Regions from separate parts of the Homo sapiens genome. Here all the other regions are linked to region 3. Evidence: promoter capture Hi-C in 16 types of primary human blood cells and fetal thymus (Javierre and others, 2016). All regions are on one chromosome and are shown on one strand. Each heading gives the region's core, a stretch centred on a gene start or on the middle of the fragment in contact. The rest is flanking DNA. Distances are from core to core; before and after follow the strand shown. Region 1 overlaps TRERF1 (transcriptional regulating factor 1). Region 2 holds the start of PRPH2 (peripherin 2). Region 3 holds the start of UBR2 (ubiquitin protein ligase E3 component n-recognin 2).

What was found. Contacts are between HindIII fragments. The CHiCAGO score rates a contact against its expected background, and 5 or more counts as called.
Region 1: a fragment that was not itself captured here is called in contact with the fragment with the promoter of UBR2 in region 3 in 2 of 17 cell types (M1 macrophages and M0 macrophages); the score reaches 6.6 in M1 macrophages.
Region 2: a contact is called between the fragment with the promoter of PRPH2 here and the fragment with the promoter of UBR2 in region 3, in 1 of 17 cell types (erythroblasts). The highest score is 5.1, in erythroblasts.

The regions. Positions count from the first base shown.
Region 1 is chr6:42,309,731-42,313,218 of GRCh38, reverse strand. The region is part of intron 3 of TRERF1 (transcriptional regulating factor 1); the gene reads left to right. Among named protein-coding and RNA genes, the nearest start is that of MRPS10, 94 kb to the right of the region's middle. The HindIII fragment of the contact is 5,172 bases long and covers 1-3,488 here.
Region 2 is chr6:42,720,587-42,723,882 of GRCh38, reverse strand. It overlaps PRPH2 (peripherin 2), which reads left to right and starts at 1,286. Exons shown (of 3, transcript NM_000322.5): 1 at 1,286-2,129. The coding sequence starts at 1,549. The HindIII fragment of the contact is 19,648 bases long and covers 1-3,296 here.
Region 3 is chr6:42,562,033-42,565,402 of GRCh38, reverse strand. UBR2 (ubiquitin protein ligase E3 component n-recognin 2) reads right to left here and starts at 1,374. Exons shown (of 47, transcript NM_001363705.2): 1 at 1,006-1,374. The coding sequence starts at 1,083. RefSeq lists a silencer at 1-110 and enhancers at 1,143-1,662, 1,733-1,812. The HindIII fragment of the contact is 771 bases long and covers 1,287-2,057 here.

The DNA.
Region 1 (3,488 bases), core at 348-2,847, 250 kb after region 3:
CGTTCCTTGGGAAGCACCAGAGAGATGCCGAACCCCAGGCGATCTCAGGGTCACAAGTGGGTGTCCTGGAAGTGTGGGCTGGAAGGAAAGCCTTATTGAAGGCAAAACTTCTGCTGGTTCCCCTCTCTACACAGCCAGCCCTGCCTTTCTCTCACCATCTTTTCCTGCTTCAGCAGAAACAATCAGGCCTGCTTCCCAGTCTGGAAATGAGCAGAGGGCACTGCCCCAGGGTCGAGGCTGCAAGCTATGGGTAGATGAGGGGAATCTGTAGGCCCCAAAAGGCTGGTGGCTCTAGTCTGAAGGCAAGAAAACTATTTGGGCAACCAGGCACTGAAGGAGAAGGAACATTGGTAGAACCTATTTCGTGTCTGTCTCCCACTCTGCCCTTGTGTTCCTGGAGAGTGGGGGCTGCCTCTGACTGTTCTTCCAAACACCACACCCGGCACTAAGACCCAGTGCATGTGTGTGGAGTCGATGAATTAATGAAAGGGAAGCCCCTTTCCATGGGTAAAGCCAAATTACCTGGATGTGAGTACAGCACAAATCCATATGCCCGTGGAGGATGGAGCATCTGTATCTGCTCCCGAAGGTGCAGATGCCCAGACCTCGGCACACCCAGCGCCAGCATTGTCTGCTTTGACCCATCATAACCACTCTGAGAGGCCAAGGAGGTTGTTTCCATTTTACAGAGGGGAATGCCGAGGATCAGAGAGATTGGCTGACATGCCTGTTGTGCGTTTTGTAAGCGGCACAGGGGGATTCTTCTGCCCCACTTCTACTGACTCCGTGATCCAGTGCTGCCTTGAATCTTCGGAAACTCTAAAGTAGGGGCTCCCCGCTTCTGAGAAAGACTCCGTAGCTCTCTTTTGGACACAGCTGCAGTGCCATCCTTCTGGGAGAGCCAGCCTGGAGCAGAACAGCTGGGGCTCATCTATCTGCTGCCCAACAAACCTTGGAAGGAGTATGATAGGAAGGTTCCATTCAGACTGCTCTTCTCTGGTGGCTCTGGGGAAAAGGGCATGATGAGGGGAGATGCCCTTTTTTCCTCCTGTTAATCTGCCCTCATCCCTGACTCCCTTTCCTGCTGTCTTCTATCCAACCACACAGTACCCAGCTTAAAACCAAGGTGGATGGAAAAGGTTTCAAGTTGATCATGGAACTCAGAATGCATTTTTCTGTAGAAGTAGCTGGAATGCGATGCCTGGTCTCCCCATGATATGTCTGAAATAAAAGAGTAATAGCATTGGCCCAATAGATAATTTGTATTAATGTTGATGGTTTAATTAATGAATTATTAATAAGCCAGCACCCTCTCTTACTTGGAAGACGACAACAGCTTTCTCCACTCTTGTCCTCTTGTAGTTTGTTCTCCACGTGAAAAGTGAATCAGACCCCATCTCTCCTCTGCTCACAACCCTCCATGATCTCTTTTTTTTTTTTTTTTTTTTTTTTTGAGACGGAGTCTTGCTCAGTTGCCCAGGCTGGAGTGCAGTGGCACGATCTTGGCTCACTGCAACCTCTGCCTCCCAGGTTCACGCCATTCTCCTGTCTCAGCCTCCCGAGTAGCTAGGACTACAGACGCCCGCCACAACGCCCGGCTAATTTTTTTTGTATTTTTAGTAGAGACGGGGTTTCATCATGTTAGCCAGGATGGTCTCGATCTCCTGACCTTGTGATCCACCCACCTCGGCCTCCCAAAGTGCTGGGATTACAGGAGTGAGCCACCGCGCCCGGCCCCTCCATGATCTCATGCCTACAGCCTGGCCTCCTGCCTTGCTGACCGCACCTGCCGGCTCCCTCCACCAAGTTCATTCCACCAAAGAGTGGAAGGACACAGCTGCTGTGTCCTCTGCCTGGGACTCTCTTCCTTCCCTGAGTCACCTGGTTCAGCCAGTTCATTTAGGCCTATGCCCAGATGTCACCTTTTCAGGTGACCATGAATAGGCGCCACCCATGTTCATCACTCCTCTGACCCTTACCCTGCTTTATTTCCCTTCATAACATTCATCATACCTGCCATGACATTGCACACATGCCTGCTTACTTGTATATTGTTATTCTCCTCCACTAGACTATCTGCTCCACAAAGGCAGGGACCTTTTATTTGTTTCCTGCTGTGTTTCCAACACTAGAAGAGTACCCAACATATAGTAGGTGCTCAATAAATATTTATAAATAAATAGATGAATGCACAACTGAATGAGTGATATATCTCTACACCTAACCAACAGCAGATTGTGGTTTACATGCAGAATTTATCACACATTCCAAACATCAACGCCAAAAAGGAATTTCTTCCTTGCCTTGCCCTTGGGATTGGAAATGCAGGCACTTCATTTTAGTAATGAGTTTATAGATTATTCTGGAAACCAGAACTTCTTGTTCTGCATTTTTGGCAAAAATAGACACCTGCTTTCTTGGAGAGTAGCTTCTCAGAGTTCTGAAGGCTTCTTGGGGCTTGACAAATGGTTGGGGGTGGGTACTCTTTGGCCTCCTTAGCCTCCTGCTACCAGTTCTGCTGAGACTGGCAGTGTTCTCTTGATTACACTAGAGCAGGGTTTCTCCTACTAACGTTTTAGACCAGATCGTCCTTTGCTGGGGGCTGTCCCATGCCTTCCAGGGTGTTTAGCAGCATCCGTGGCCTCTACCCATTAGATACTAGAAGAACTCCCCCAACTGTGACAACCAACAATGTCTCTGGACATTGCCAAGTATCCCTCGAGGAGTAAAATCACTCCCTGTTGAGAACTACTGCTCCACCATGTACAGAAAGCCCCACCAACAACAAAGAATTATCCAACCCACAGTGTCACAAATGCCAAGGTTGAGCTACGCTGCTCTGAGAGCCCTGTCCAATAGGACTCTGCATTGAGGGAAATGTTCTATTTGGTGCTGTCTAATATGGTAGCTACTAGCCACATGTGGCTATTGAGCATCTTAAAATGTGTAGGCCGGGGCGTGGTGGCTCATGCCTATACTCCTAGCACTTTGGGAGGCCGAGGCAGGAGGATTGCCTGAGCCCAGAAGTTAGAGGCTGCAGTGAGCTGTGAGCAAGCCACTGCACTCCAGCCTGGGTGACAGAGTGAGGCCCCGTTTCTTAAAAAAGAAAAGAAAAGTAGTTAGTGCAACTGAAAAGCTGAGTTAAGTTTAATTTTAGGCTGGGTGCGGGGGCTTATGCTTGTAATCCCAGCACTTTGGGAGGCAAGACAGGCAGATTGCTTCAGCCTAGGAGTTGGAGACTAGCCTGGGCAACATGGCAGAAACCTGTCTCTGCTAAAGGAGACCCCTGGTGGCGCATGTTTGTAGTCCCAGGTTGAGGCGGGAGGATCACTTGAGCCCAGGAGGTTGAGGCTGCAGTGAGCCCTGATCATGCCACTGCACTCCAGCCTGGGTGACAGAGTGAGACCCTGTCTCAATAAATAAAACAAAATAATAAAATAAAGTAAATTTTTAAGTTTATTTTATTTTAAATTAATATTCATTTAAAT
Region 2 (3,296 bases), core at 37-2,536, 160 kb before region 3:
GGTGCCTGTCACCATACCCAGACAATTTTTGTATTTTTAGTAGAGACAGGGTTTCACCATGTTGGCCAGGCTGGTCTTGAATGCCTGACCTCAAGTGATCCACCCACCTTGGCCTTCCAAACTGCTGGGATTACAGGTGTGAACCACTGTGCCCGGCCAAGTTTGGTATTTTATTGTTGTTTGGATTTGCATTTTCCTGCTTATTACCCAAGTTGAGATCTTTTCCAGATTATTGGACTTTTCAAGTTTCCTAATTATGAATTGTCTGTTCCTGGTTTTTGCCTATTTTTCCAGTTGATTATTGGTCTTTTGATTGTGAATTTTTGTTTATTGTGAATTTGTGAGACTTAAAACATTTTTGCATATTAATTCTTTTTTTTTTTTTTCCAGACAGAGTCTCACTGTCACCCAGGCTGGAGTGCAATGTGGGGATCTCAGTTCAGTGCAACCTCCACCTCCTGGGCTCAAGCGATCCACCTGCCTTGGCCTCCCAAAGTACTGGGATTACAGGCATAAGCCACCATGCCTGGCCACTGTATATTACTTTTTAATTTTACAAGTTGCAAATGTTTTCTCACGATCTGTCACTTTCTTTCTTTCCTTCCTTCTTCTCTTCTTTTCTTTGTCTTTTTAAAATTTGAGACAGGGCCTCACTCTGTCACCCAGGCTGGAGTGCAGTGGCACGATCATGGCTCAGTGCAGCCTTGAACTCCCCAGGCTCAGGTGATCTTGCCACCTCAGCCTCCAGAGTAGCTGGGAGAACTACAGGTGCATGCCACCATACCCAGCTAATTTTTTTTTTTTTTTTTTTGTGTGTGTGTGTGTGTGTGTGGAGATGGGGTCTTCCTATGTAGCCCAGGCTGGTCTTGAACTCCTGGGCTCAAGTGATCCACCCAACTTGGTCTCCCAAAGTGCTGGGATTATAGGCGTGATCCACTGTGCCTGGCCCTGTCATTTCTTTTCTCAGAGAGGATAACAATTTATTTGTCCTACAGAAAGTTTTAAATGTTGAAGGAGATTGGCCTGGAAATATGCTTTTGGGGAGCAACACGGTCTGAGCCAGACATCCAGATACAGCCCATTCTTCTGGCCAGTCTTGCCCTTTGCTCCTGATTCTCCAAGCTGTACCCAGAGCTTTCTGGTTCAGCATGTACCTGGAGGCTGCTTTTGACCATGTTTTGAGAGTGGCATGGCTTTATCTAATGGGATGAACCTGGCTAAAGAGATTAGCAAAATGTCTTGTGGATCCCACTTTTAATCTGCAGCGTTCAGGCTGCCCCTTCTTGGCTGGGAAGGGCGCTGAAGAAACAACGCCCAGGACCAGGACTATCCCCTGCTCAAGCTGTGATTCCGAGACCCCTGCCACCACTACTGCATTCACGGGGATCCCAGGCTAGTGGGACTCGACATGGGTAGCCCCCAGGGCAGCTCCCTACAGCTTGGGCCATCTGCACTTTTCCCAAGGCCCTAAGTCTCCGCCTCTGGGCTCGTTAAGGTTTGGGGTGGGAGCTGTGCTGTGGGAAGCAACCCGGACTACACTTGGCAAGCATGGCGCTACTGAAAGTCAAGTTTGACCAGAAGAAGCGGGTCAAGTTGGCCCAAGGGCTCTGGCTCATGAACTGGTTCTCCGTGTTGGCTGGCATCATCATCTTCAGCCTAGGACTGTTCCTGAAGATTGAACTCCGAAAGAGGAGCGATGTGATGAATAATTCTGAGAGCCATTTTGTGCCCAACTCATTGATAGGGATGGGGGTGCTATCCTGTGTCTTCAACTCGCTGGCTGGGAAGATCTGCTACGACGCCCTGGACCCAGCCAAGTATGCCAGATGGAAGCCCTGGCTGAAGCCGTACCTGGCTATCTGTGTTCTCTTCAACATCATCCTCTTCCTTGTGGCTCTCTGCTGCTTTCTGCTTCGGGGCTCGCTGGAGAACACCCTGGGCCAAGGGCTCAAGAACGGCATGAAGTACTACCGGGACACAGACACCCCTGGCAGGTGTTTCATGAAGAAGACCATCGACATGCTGCAGATCGAGTTCAAATGCTGCGGCAACAACGGTTTTCGGGACTGGTTTGAGATTCAGTGGATCAGCAATCGCTACCTGGACTTTTCCTCCAAAGAAGTCAAAGAGTGAGTGGCTTCCAGTCCTGGGGTCAGAGCTATGAATATATTGGGGACACTGAGGCTCAGGCCTCTGACCAGCCCCTCTCCCCGCACCCAGTGCCTTTTCCTCTCCATCGGGTGCACAACTTATTGCTGCGTATGTGAGGGTGTATCAGGTGGAACCATATGAAATTGCTAATATTCTACCTCTTTGACCCATAAAAAATGACAACTTCATAGGGTTCAACCTAACATTGGCTAAGGTGGTAGGAAGGTATCAATTTATATAAGCTGTTTGGATAGGAGCCCCTTGGGATGAAGAGCCAGGCAGCAATGTGTGTCCACTTTATACAGAGGGATGGAAGTCATTCATAGATCACAAACACTGAGGTACTATTTGGCTATTTGTCCCATTCATTCAAAGTAGATGGATTCAGTCCCAGAAGTTTAAATTTCCTAGTTAGTTCCCTTGTTTTCCAACCTTTCAACCCTGAGCATCCATTCCCAAGATGTTTGTCTGGATATGTTGGAAAGAGCATAGGAAGGGGAAGTCATGAGATCTAGGGTGAAGTTTTGGTTCTGTTGTTCAAGGTCTTGTGACCTTGGGCAGGTCACTAGTCACTCTGCGCTTTGGCTTGCCCATCTTTTAAATGAGCACTGGAATAGAATAGGTAATTTTGGAAGTCACCTCCTAGCCCTGCCTGGTAGCTGGCATGCAGCAGGTACTCATTAAATGCTTGCTGGTGTTTACTTAGCGAGTCATGATAGTGCAATGTGATAAAGCATTTCTAAAGTATTCTTGGCATATGTAAAAGTAAAATGCTGCGATGGGCTGTGGGAGGTGCTGGTGAGAGAGAGACTCTCGACCACTGTGTCGGAGGGAACAGCCTGTGCACTGGCTCCAGCGGGCTGCTCTTCCCAACACACCCACCAACCTGGGGCTCGAGTGACTTTTCAGGGAAAGGGCAGCCTGCCTTGAGGCAGCCGCTTTCCCTCACCTCTTCTTTCTGTCTGACTCGACCCTACCTGGCTGAGGTTAGGGGTTCAGTTATTCCTAAGGGTGGTTTTTTTTTCTTCCCAGTGAGGCTGGCAAGTCCAAAGGGAACTTGAACTCAGGGCATTGGCACCAGCAGCAGGACATGTTTGAAGCCCAAAACAACATTAATGACGCCCAAATAGCTAGCTTATATCTGC
Region 3 (3,370 bases), core at 125-2,624:
CCAATCCCAAATTTTGTTCGTAGCATTCAGATTGCTGACTTTTATTCACGGGTCACTCCCTTCCTAGCAGCCTTTTTAATTGGAGGTCTTAGAGGTGGGGCCCAAGCTGTCTTGGTCCATTCATAATCATTCTCGGCAATCTCTTCTAATGGGTGTTCCTACAACTCTGCTATTTACACTAGCATATTCATATTACAGTTTTAATGCAATAGTGCGTTTGAACGGTTTTACGTTTGGAATATAACTGCTCCTACTACACTGTGACCAGTTCTCACGTTTAGCTTATACAGTATTTGTTGAAAGCTGCTCTATCAACGTTATATAACATTTGTTCTCCATCCAATTACCCCTAACTCCTAGAAAAAATATTTTTAAAATTTCCCAGACTCCACGACTACTTTCTCATACTCAGTAAACTTTCCACACATGCATCAACGTTGTCAACTAATCAAACCGGTGCAAAAAAAAAAGATAGCACTGAAACGGATAACGAAGGGTAGTGTCGTTTGCCTTCTTGGTGCCTGGGGCAGTCCCAAAAACAAAAGAGGGGCTCGGTTAGGGTGGCATGTTTAGTCGGAGGAGCACACGGCTTCGCTTGTCTCAGGAAAAGCAATTAACTAGATAAACTAGGGCGATTATACCAAAAACACAAGAAGCGTCTCTTCTCCTCTTCCAAGAGCTGATATAAAGGGCAAAGGCCCATGTGTTGGGAGACTTAATGGGAGGCTGGGGGAAAGGAGGTATGATGGAAGAGCCGTGGGTTCTCCTGGGCAGAAAGGGAAAGTAAACGTAGTTAGTGCACAGCGCAGCTCTGGCAGCTGTTGAAAATGGAAAGAGAGGGGCAGGATCGGTGGCCTCCCCGGGCTATTACCCCACAAGGCGAGGGCCGGCACAGCTGTTTCCCCAAGTCTGGGTCGGGCTGCTCCAGGACGTCCAGGAGTCGGTTCCTCCCCACAGGCGCGGCCTGCGAGGGGCAGACGCACCCGCCCGGGTTCCGGCACTCACCCCCGCAATCTCCTCGGCCGAACATTCCAGCAAGCTCCGGTCGATGGCCTGCACCTCTGGCTCTAGCTCCGACGCCATCTTCTCTCCTCCTCCTCCCCAGCGCTACCGCCGCCCGGAGAGCTGCAGCCTCACCTCGGCCCCGGCGGCCTCGACTGCCACCCCTGCCCCAGGCAATCAGTCCCGGAGCCGTCCAAGTGGCTGCAGGTGGAGCAACAGAGGGAGAGAAGGGTGACGTGAACCGGAAAGGAAGGACAGCGGCCTCCTGCGCTCCCTCCCAAGCTTAGCGCCCAAGAGTCAAGTCACTGGCTCGTCCCTGACCCAGGGAAGGACACAGAAAACCCCAGGCCTGACACTCTCGCTGGCCACTACCGCGTCCTGCACCAGGAAAGGGGCAATAACACCCAGGAGGGGAAGCGGAGCTTTCTGGGTACTGTAGTTCTGGGTGCTGTAGGTACAGCACAGCCGGGAAAAAGGTGGCGCCCTAACACGGTGCCCCTCGAATGCATTGTGGGAGTTGTAGTCCATTCTCAAGGGGCGCTGGCTTAAATGGCAGATAAGCGGGCGGGGCTTTTCTGCCCAACGAGAATCATGGGAAGACAGTCGCGGAAAGCAGCGCCCCCTGGAAAAAAGCCAAAGAGAAAGATACTGTGGGAACTGTAGTTTTATTCTCCGAATCTCGTTTGTTCATTTTTGTATCCCCAGCTTCAAGAACACTGCCTGGCACATGGTAGACCCTCAAGGACTTGCCAGTCTGGCATAGGGTAGGCACTCAAATACTTGTCAAAGGAATGAATGAATTACATTCTATTCCTGTGGTTCTATGTCCTGTCATCCATCGAACCCATATCTTTTATACGAGTAATGGAGGTGAACATTACCCACTTTTTTGAAGGTTTAAAACATGTTTTAAAAAATTTTTCAAAAACTTTAGTGATGACCACTTATAAACTTTATCACAAATCTTGCTGCAAAGGAAAAAGAGTCTATTAGGCCAATTAAAAGATTTCCTCTTGATAGAGACATTTAATTTCTACAGATAATCAGACCAAGCTTGGTGGCTCATGCCTGTAATTCCAGCACTTTGGGAGGCCGAGGGGGGCAGACTACTTGAGCCCAGGAGTTTGAGACCAGTTTGGACAACATAGCGAGACCCTCTTGATAAAAATCAAAAAATTAGCCAGGTGTGGTGGCACGCCTGTAGTCCCAGCTACTCGGGAAGCTGAGGCAGGAGGATTGCTTGAGCCCAGGCAGTTGAGGCCATCGTGAGCTGTGATCAGCCCACTGCACTCCAGCCTGCGTGACACAGCTGAGACCCTGTATCAAAAAAGAAGGAAAAAAAAAAAAAAGAAATAGGTAAACATTGTTAGACTAGCTATCAAAGAAAACTATGTTTAGTTAAAGGTAATTAGACTCTTGACTGACAGCTGGGTGACTGGGCTTCTTAGAAGTCTTCAGTCTCTAGAGTTTGTCAGAAAATTGTTTATACCTTTTGTCAAGTGTGTTAATTTATTCCCAGAAGTAGGTTGTAAATTACATATAGGGGGGAAAAGTTCTGAGCCAGACCAGGTTTAGGACATGTTTATGTTTATGTTGTTTTGGGATTTTTTTTAAACCAATACTATGATATTAACCAGTTTTTTAAAAAAGGAAATAAGAAACTGCCTGTATCCCTGTAACCTCACAATACAAGTAAGCCTTCTTATCACTTTTTAAAAGTTATATATATATATACATATAAAACATCAGAAATTCAAACTCGAAAGGAATGTTTTAAAAAAGGAAAATTGAAAACTTCCTATTCCTCTTACCCCAAGTCCCTCTCCCCAAAGAAAATCATTTTTGACACTGTCTTATGAGTCTGTCCAGAAAAAAGTATGCACATATCTGTACAGATATTTATAATGAGATATCTTGAAATATTCTTCTATGTATTTTTCTTTTTTTGCCCAACTTCCTTACACTGATCCACTCAGGACAGAGTCAACTTGGAAGAAAACTGGGATTGTCCCAGCCTAGAAGCAAAAACAACATCTCTTGAGCTGTCCTAACATAGAATTTAAGTCGTTAATAGACTGTAAAGGCAATTTCTGTTCTTAACATTATTTGCTTCCTAACATTATTTGTTTCAGGCCGAGCATTGTGGCTCACACCTGTAATACCAAAACTTTGGGAGGCCAAGATTGGAGGATAACTTGAGGCCAGGAGTTTGAGACCAGCCTGGGCAACATAGCAAGACCCCATCTCTACAAAAAAATTTAAAAATTAGCCGAACATGGTGGCCCATGTCTGTAGTCCTAGCTACTTTGGGAGGCTGAGACAGGAAAGATCACTTGAGCCTAGGAGTTCAAGCCTGTAGTGAGCTATG